2 separate regions of the Homo sapiens genome follow, and region 2 is linked to region 1. The links are contacts of gene promoters, found by promoter capture Hi-C in blood cells and fetal thymus (Javierre and others, 2016). All regions are on one chromosome and are shown on one strand. Each heading gives the region's core, a stretch centred on a gene start or on the middle of the fragment in contact. The rest is flanking DNA. Distances are from core to core; before and after follow the strand shown. Region 1 overlaps WWP1 (WW domain containing E3 ubiquitin protein ligase 1). Region 2 holds the start of LRRCC1 (leucine rich repeat and coiled-coil centrosomal protein 1).

The links. Contacts are between HindIII fragments. The CHiCAGO score rates a contact against its expected background, and 5 or more counts as called.
Region 2: the fragment with the promoter of LRRCC1 here is called in contact with a fragment that was not itself captured in region 1 in 1 of 17 cell types (activated CD4 T cells); the score reaches 6.1 in activated CD4 T cells.

Annotation. Positions count from the first base shown.
Region 1 is chr8:86,362,045-86,366,346 of GRCh38, forward strand. The region is part of intron 1 of WWP1 (WW domain containing E3 ubiquitin protein ligase 1); the gene reads left to right. Among named protein-coding and RNA genes, the nearest start is that of WWP1-AS1, 20 kb to the left of the region's middle. The HindIII fragment of the contact is 3,145 bases long and covers 478-3,622 here.
Region 2 is chr8:85,104,511-85,108,843 of GRCh38, forward strand. It overlaps LRRCC1 (leucine rich repeat and coiled-coil centrosomal protein 1), which reads left to right and starts at 2,728. Exons shown (of 19, transcript NM_033402.5): 1 at 2,728-2,889. The coding sequence starts at 2,786. It overlaps LOC105375933 (a long non-coding RNA gene), which reads right to left and starts at 3,352. Exons shown (of 3, transcript XR_929117.3): 1 at 3,049-3,352. RefSeq lists an enhancer at 2,840-2,899. The HindIII fragment of the contact is 5,185 bases long and covers 1-4,333 here.

The DNA of each region.
Region 1 (4,302 bases), core at 800-3,299:
TACACACATATATACACACATATATATACACATATATACACACATATATATATACACTAGGCATATATATATACACTAGGCATATGTATATATATACTAGGCATATATATATACAAGGCATATATATATATATATATATATATATATATATATATATACTGGAAAACTTCATTCAAAAAATTGTTAAAATGCCTAATGCCTAGTTTCTTTGATTATTGATCACCTTTTTTTTTTTCACATGGTAAATTGATATACTAGAAAGATTAAATTAGAGGCTTATGTCAGTATTTTTCAGGGAGAGAATGGAGGCCACATCAGTGTTTATTGAGTGATTGAATTGTAGTCTTATGGTGCAGACAGGTCCAGGAGAAAGTAGGTGTAAGGTGGCCACTGTTTGGCCTTGGAAGGGGAACAGAAATATTTCAGTAGAGTGGTGAGGGCAGCAACCAAATTGCAAGGGTAGAAGAATCGGTGACAAGCTTAGACATCATTATTTTAGGAAGTGAGTTCATCAAAGGAATTTTTTTCTCCCTTTTTCTTGTTGCTCTTGTTTATTTTAAGTAGTACATGAGCCCCAAATCTGTTTGATGACCAAAAAAGGAGGGTTTAAATGAGGGAGGAGAAGGGAGGGAAGGCATTATCCTAGAAGATGACAGTGTGTAGGTATACCACTTCAGAAAGTAGGAGGGTATATTTAATTTCAAGGACTCAATGCTAGACAAGATCGAGTGTAGTGTCTTTTTACAGAAATTTACATCAGAAATTATTTAAAATAAAAGCTGGGATTAGTATCTCAAAAGCACCTCAGTGTTTAGAATTAACAGATACAAATCAGATAAATATAGCAGGACTATCTGCATTTTTCTATAAATGCATTATTTAACTTTCATTATTGAAAATTGTTTCTCGTATTTAATATTATTTAATATTTTTCTCATGCTTAATAATTTAGCATTTATATAGTACTCGATAATTCATAAAGTGCTTATATAATCTTACCTTGAAGGTATCAAAAAACAAAATTATCACAAATTTAGTTACAGATCAAATTGGCTTTTATTCATGATCCATGAATGGGGCAGTCTCCATTCTACAATATGGAATGAGAACTTCTGCTGGGTAGTGGCAGAACACTGGGTTTTGTGAGATGGGGACGAGGAAACAACAACAAAAAAAGCTGACTGGTTAATGTCAGGTTACTTTTTTGTAAGGATTAAAGCAGAGGGGAATTCCTTATTATGTTGACTCAGTCAGACTGTTACCTGTTTTTAGGGAAAGCTGGTCTGCTGGTCTGCTTTAACTGTCTGCTTCCTTGAACTTTTAGTTTGATTATGTGGCATTTAGCATGGGTGGCTTCATTTTGTCTTGGTCTGGTCTTTTGGGGCCTAGTGCAGGAGCTTAGTCCAAAAACAATGGCTTCCCATAAGTTTTTTTTTAACAAAGGCTACTGAAAGAGGTTAAATTATATGTCTATGGGCCGAGCATGGTGGCTCACTCCTGTAATCCCAGCACTTTGGGAGGCCGAGGTGGGCCGATCACTTGAGGTCAGGAGTTCAAGACCAGCCTGGCCAACATGGTGAAACCCCGTCTCTACGAAAAATAAACAAATTAGCCGGGTGTGGGCACCTGTGGCCCCAGCTACTCAGGAGGCTGAGGCAGGAGAATCACTTGAACCTGGGAGGCAGAGGTTGCAGTGAGCCGAGATCGCACCACTGTACTCAGCCTGGGTGACAGAGTGAGACTCCATCTCAAAAAAAAAAAAAAAAAAAAGAAATTTGTCTGTGGTCTTGCTGATTTTATTTATTAGGTATTTATTCTGTGCCAGGAAGTATTTTTAGTGCTTTGTCACTAAAATGACAAAAGTAGTGTACGTGAAACACATTTTCCTTGAAAGGGTGGTTAGTTAGTTTTGCTTTGGGTATGTAATTGTAACTTTTCTCATTAATTGGGACAAGAACCCTGATAAGAAGAGCACATTAAATTGCTCTGATCATATTTTCTGGTGTGACTGAAGCCTTGCTGTGATGCAGGGCTATTTAGAAGGCAAGGACATAGATGGAATTTAAAGTACTCAAAAATGTACTTGATTAGAATTAATGAGAATGAAAAGAGAATTGAGTTAAATAGCTTCACTAGCTATTGGACTTGAATTTCTGTAAATAAAGTGAATTTTATGTGTTGGTTGCTTTGAGGGAGAGAAATAAATTTGTATTCATTATGTAACTAATAGTTTAGAGTAGGTGGGTCATAGAATAATTTTGAGAACAAGGCTTTCATATAGCTTAGAAATGGTTAAAATTGGCATTAAAAAGGGAATCTACAGAAAAATCAAGATTTGGTGCTTCATACTCAAAACTGTGATATGTATGGTGCATTTTAATGTAAGAATATGTTTTGCTTACATTATACATGTTAATGAGAGGTAAATTTTGAGGTAATGTACTGTAAAGCAGAAGAGTTTTCTGTGTAATTGTTTGAGAGGAATAAATCTTTAAAAATAAAAAATATTTCAGTGCTTTGGGAGTCTGGGGTGGGAGGCTCACTTGAGCTAAGGAGTTCTGGACCAGCCTGGGTAACATAGACCCCATCTCTACAAAAAACAAACAAAGAAATTAACCAGGCATGGTGGTGCGTGCCTGTAGTGTCAACTACTTGAGAGTCTCAGGCAGGAGGATAGCAGGAGTCCAATAGTTAGACCCTACAGTGAGCCATGATTATGCCACTGCACTCTATCCTGGGCGACAAAAGTGAGACCCTGCCTCGAAAGAAAGAAAGAAAGAAAGAAAGAAAGAGAGAGAGAGAGAGAGAGAGAGAAAGAAGAAAGAGAGAAAGAAAGAAAGAGAGAAAATAAAGTAAAATTAAAAATTAAAAATACAATTGAGTAGAAACTCACTTTCTATAAGAAAATGAAGTGGCTGAAAAATAGGAAGAGAGTGCATTTATGATAGGGGAGATGTGAGATATATCTGAAAAAGAAAAGTCAAGAAACAAGGACTAGATTTATGTTACTGGAAAAGAAGATGTAAAAATTAGAGAGTAAGAGAAAACAGAACCAAAAGGCTCAGAAAAAAATCTATGTATTAACGTTAATTAAAAATTAATGTATTAACTCCCTCTGGTTGAAAATCTGAAATTGGGTGATAACGAATAGTAAGAATTGGGTATTCATACTAACTTAGGAAATTGGGCCTTTTGAAGAAAAATACATTTTTCTCATAGAAATACTTCCTAAAGGGCCATATATTGTGCACTGAAAGGAACTTTGAAATTGACTAAAAATACAGAAAGATGGAGGGAAGATAGTCGAAGTTATTAGATTCTGTGGTTAGATAGGCATTTTTAGGCTTCAATACCTTTTAGGTTCCACATTTATTGGGTGTTTAAAATAAACACCCAAATTAAAGTCAGAGGCTAAAAGGTACCTGTAGATTCCATGTTTATTTGTTATTTGTCTGGTAGATATTGCAAGTACTCTTCAAATCACTGGAATGGTACAGCTCAGAAGTGCTATTCTGTTTTACTCTGCAGCACACTTGTAAGTTATCAGGAGAGGGGCATTCTTGTGTTTTGAATATGAATGGATCAATCAGTGATATAGGGAGAGGTCAAGTGTGGACAAGAAAGCTTTAATTTTTTGGCGGGTCACAGTGGTTGATGCCTGTAATCCCAGCACTTTGGGAGGCCCAGGTGGGAGGATCACTTGAGGCCAGAGGTTAAAGACTAGCCTGGGCAAATAGTGAGACCCTGTCTCTATTTATATATAAAAAGCTTTAAAAGAAATCACATAGCTTCTTTCCCAAATAGTTAGATGTATACATTGAGAACACCAAGTTTATTTGAAGGGAGAGAGAAAGGCACAATAAAGACAGAACCTGGGAAGAAAAGCCCAATGGGAGATAGAAGTGAAAAGTGATATTAACGTGGCACTGGTAAAATTGGAAACAATTGTACTTAGCCTGTTTTCTTGACATAACGTATGTGAAAATTTGAAACTATGAAGTGCTTCGCAAATGTAAAGTATTAATGACATTGCCAGTAGGTCCCCTACAGTGAAGGGATGCCGGAGAGTGCTGGAGAGACTGTAGTTCCTGAGTTAAGCAGACCAATTCTAAGGGAAGAGTGCAGTGGTAGAGATTCCTAGTGGGAGATTGTGGGAAGAATAGGACCCATCAAGTTCAGGATGGGGCCATATGAGCTAGTGAATGGAATGGAGATCAGCAAGATACAGGAAGGGTGAGTTGTTGGCATAGATGCAGAGGCTGTGATGGCTTGGGGTATGATGGCATGGGGATGATGGGTGAT
Region 2 (4,333 bases), core at 1,478-3,977, 1.3 Mb before region 1:
CAGGCAATTCACCCGCCTCGGCCTCCCAAAGTGCTAGGATTACAGGCATGAGCCACTGTGCCCGATCCCTTTATCATTACATAGTGACCTTTCTTGTCTCTTTTTTACTATTTTTAACTTACAGTCTATTGTATCTAATATTCATATAGCTATTCCTGCTGGCTTTTGGTTTCCATTTGCATAAAATATCTTTTTTCTTCCCTTTACTTTCAGTCCATATGTGTCTTTACAAGTGTGATGAGTTTCTTCTAAGCAGACTATTGTTGGGTCATTTTTTAATCCATTAATTCAAGCTATATCTTCCAGGTGGAAAATTTATTCCATTTGCATAAGGTCATGATTGATACGTGAGGGCTTATTCCTGTCATTTTATTAATCCATTTCTGGTTATTTTTGTGTATTCCTTGTTCCTTTCCTTCTCTATCATTGTTTATGATTGTGGTTTGGTGGTTTTCTGTAATGGTAACATTTGAGTCCTTTCTCTTTCTTGTGTGTTTGATCTACCAGTGGACTTTATATTTTTGTGTGTTTTCATGCTGGTAAATATTGTCCTTTTGTTTCCATATGTAAGACTCTCATGAGCATTTTTATAGGTCCAGTCGACTGGTGATGAATTCTTTTGCTTTTGCTTATCTTGGAAAGACTTTATTTTTCCTTGGTTTATGAAGGATAACTTTGTTGAGTACTTGGCTGGCTGTTTTTTCTTTCAGCACTTTGAATTTATCATACCATTCTCTGCCGGCTTGTAAAGTTTTTGGTGAGAAATCCACTGTTAGTTTGTTGAGGGTTCCCTTATAAATGACTAGATGTTTTTCTCTTGCTGTTTTTAGAATTCTTTGTCTTTGACTTTTATCAGTTTGACTACAATGGGCCATAAAGGAGACTTTTTCTTTTCTTTTCTTTTTTGCGAAAGAAGACATGCAAGCAGCCAAGAAACATATTTTTAAATGCTCAACATCACTAATAATCAGAGAGATGTAAATCAAAACTATAATAAGATATCATCTCACAGCAGTCAGAGTGGGTTTTATTAAAAAGTCAGAAAATATGAGATGTTAGTGAGGTTGCAGAGAAAAAGTAATGCTTACACACCATCAGTGGGAATGCAAATTGCAGCCACTGTGGAAAGCAGTTTGGAGATTTCACAAAGAACTAAAAATAGAATTACCGTTCAATCCAGGAATCCCATGACCAGGTATCTAGCCAAAGAAAAATAAATTGTTTTACCAAAAAGACACCCGCATTCATATGTTTATTGCAGCACAGTAGCAAAGGCATGGAATGAGCCCTGATGCCCATCAATGATAGACTGGATAAAGAAAATGTGGCACATATACACCAACATGCAGCCATAAAAAAGAACAAAATCATGTCCTTTGCAGCAATATGGATGCAGCTGAAGGTCATTATCCTAAGTGAATTAACACAGAAACAGAAAACCAAATACCATATGTTCTCACTTCCAAGTGGCAGCTAAACACTGGATACACATGAACACAAAGATGGGAACAATAGACACTGGGGACTCCAAAAGGGGGAAGGCAAGAGTTGAATAACTACCTATCAAGCGCTATATTTACTATTTGGGTTACAGGATCATTAGAAGCCACAACCTCAGCATCGTGCAATATACTTATGTAACAAACCTGCACATGTACCCCCGAATCTAAAATAAAAAGTGAGATGAAATTTTTTTTAAAAGAAAACCTTTTTGCATTGTATCTGTTTGGGAACCTTTGGCCTCCTGTGCCTGGGTGTCTAAATCTCTTGCTAGACTTGGGAAGTTTTCATATAGTATTTTGTTGAACCATTTTTCCAACTCTATTGTTTTCTCTTTGCCTTCTGAGACTCCAAAATTTTGAATATTTGGTCACTTTATGGTGTCCTACATGTCATGTGGGTTTTGCTCATTTTTTAAAACATCTTTTTTATTTTTGTCTATATGAGTTATTTCAAAAGGAAATAGTCCACTTCAAATGGACTACTGCACCATTTGCTCCGTTTTAAAATATTACTATGCCTTAGGAAGCAATCTAGCCAGGAGGGTTATTTGACCTCACACAGGTATTGCTTTCCCACCTGTAATGCCATTCATCCAGAACTCCCCCTAACCCAGCAAGACTCTATTCAGTCATCAATCACTTCTTTTAGAAAACGTACCCACTACCCATATCACTCTAGAGTTGGTTTCGATGCCCTTGTGTTATTCTTAGCATTCGTCATACTGTATGGCAATTCTGTTTCCTCTATGGGGCTGCGAATGTTTCCAGGAACAAGAATAGGCTTCATCTTTTTCTTCCTCATACAGGGAAGTGACTGACATACAGTAAGGCATCCCACAAATTGTTCAATGAATCAACAGGAGGTGCAATGGCCAGAGGAACAATTTATACGTATGTAAGGCTATGTAAAGGCACGTAAAGCCAAACCGCTGTGAAAACCGCCTTCAGAAGTCAGTCGGCTACTAGGCAAATATACAGAAGCACACAGGACAAATCCATTCATTCTCCAGCTCCTACACGCCCGGGAAGCAGTTTTACTTTACAGCAAGTTCAAGAGTCGCACCGCAGATGCTGTAAAAACGAAAGAAGCCCACAGTTGGGACGAGGATTCCAGTTTTGCGTCACCGTCAAGGCGGGAAAGTTCCCGGCTGTCGGTTGGAGGGTGGGTCCTCGCCCCGCCCCGCCCCCTCGGGCCGCCCTTCCGCGCTTCCGGGAGGCTTGTCCCAAGCTCACGGACCCCTCGCTGGGTGCCGGTTAAGACCCCGCTCCCCGTCGCCAGTGCTATGGAGGCGGCGGCGGCGGTGGTGGCGGCAGAGGCGGAAGTGGAAAACGAAGACGGCGACAGCAGCTGCGGGGATGTATGCTTCATGGACAAAGGCTTGCAGAGGTAAAGGGCGCTCCGCAGCCAGGAGCGACCCGCGCACTCCCCAGAGCCGGGGCCACGAGTGGCTGGCGGCGACACCAGAGTGGAGGCGCGGCACTGCTTTACCAAGACCATAAGTGAACGCAGTCTGGCTTTCGGCCTCCCCGCTCCTCCAAAACTTACCTGCCGAAGTGCCAGGTTGAATGAGCCGTGGATGCCTTCCCGCCCGTGTCTCCTGCCCAGCGTTTCACACGACTCTGCTTAGCCTAGAAACTGCCCCAGGACCTTGTCCTCCACCAGCTTCTGACCACTCTTTCCTTCTGCTGGTTTTCCTTACTTACTGGTGGTTATTCCTTTGCTTGCCGTTTAATTGCTGGTTTTCTCGTGTTCTCTCGTCTTTCCTGTTCTTACCTCTGAAAAAAACCTGCAGGATAGTATCTCTGGCAGCTATGAGCGGGCAGTCGCTGCTGCCTGTTAGTTTTGCCTCAGTTCTCCTTGTCTGCATTCGAAATCATTTGTCCGTTACAGAACATTGCAATACATATATTCATATACTTTTTGAAAGTACTAAACTTACTATATTTAGTTCATCGTTTCCCTCTCTCTTGAAGCCCTGACTTGTGCAAAGCATATGAGGCACTTGGTTCTGTAATACTGTAAAGCAGGTCTCCACCTGCATTTCAGGCTCTTTAGTCTCGACCCGTAACATTTCTCCACTTACACTTTATTTACCTGTACTGAGCTACAGGCAATTCCATAGCAGACTTCTCTGTGCCTTTGCACATGCTGTTCCTTTGTAGCGTGTCCTCTACGCGAACTCTGCTACTGATAATTAAGCATCTTGTTCTGGATTCTGATTTAAACTTTGCCAGATGATCCCAAGAAGATGCTGTTCAAGGGACATTTTACATTTCTATTTAATACTAGCTGCCATTTACTGAATGCTATCTGTTGTGTGCATGTTATATACATTATCAGTAATCCTCACAGCAATTCTACAAGGTAGTAATTTTTCTCATTTACAAGTGATGAATGAGACTCAGAATCTATTGACAATTTGTTCATCTTTATACACTTCATGAAGAATTAAGTTCGGATTCAAACCCATTTTCCGTCTAATTTCACTATGCTTTTTCTATCTCACATTATCTGCACATTATTAATGTCGAGAAACTGAAATGTGTCAGAAAGTAAATGACTGTCATTAAGAGCATGTGTTAACAGCATAAGGTCTGGCACTAAATAAGAACTCAAGTAAATGACACAGCAGGATAAGTGGGAAATGCCCCAGATAGTCACATTTAAAGGTTGCTAGTTTGAAATTTGCAAATGCTTCCCTGCTGTCAGAGTTAGGTTTCCTACAGCTGTAAGATAGCTGCTACTCAACCTACAGCAGATGCCCGTGACATTGTGTGTTCCTGGGTGTATCTCCCATCTAGCAACTCCAAACTGTGTATGCTGTAGTTTG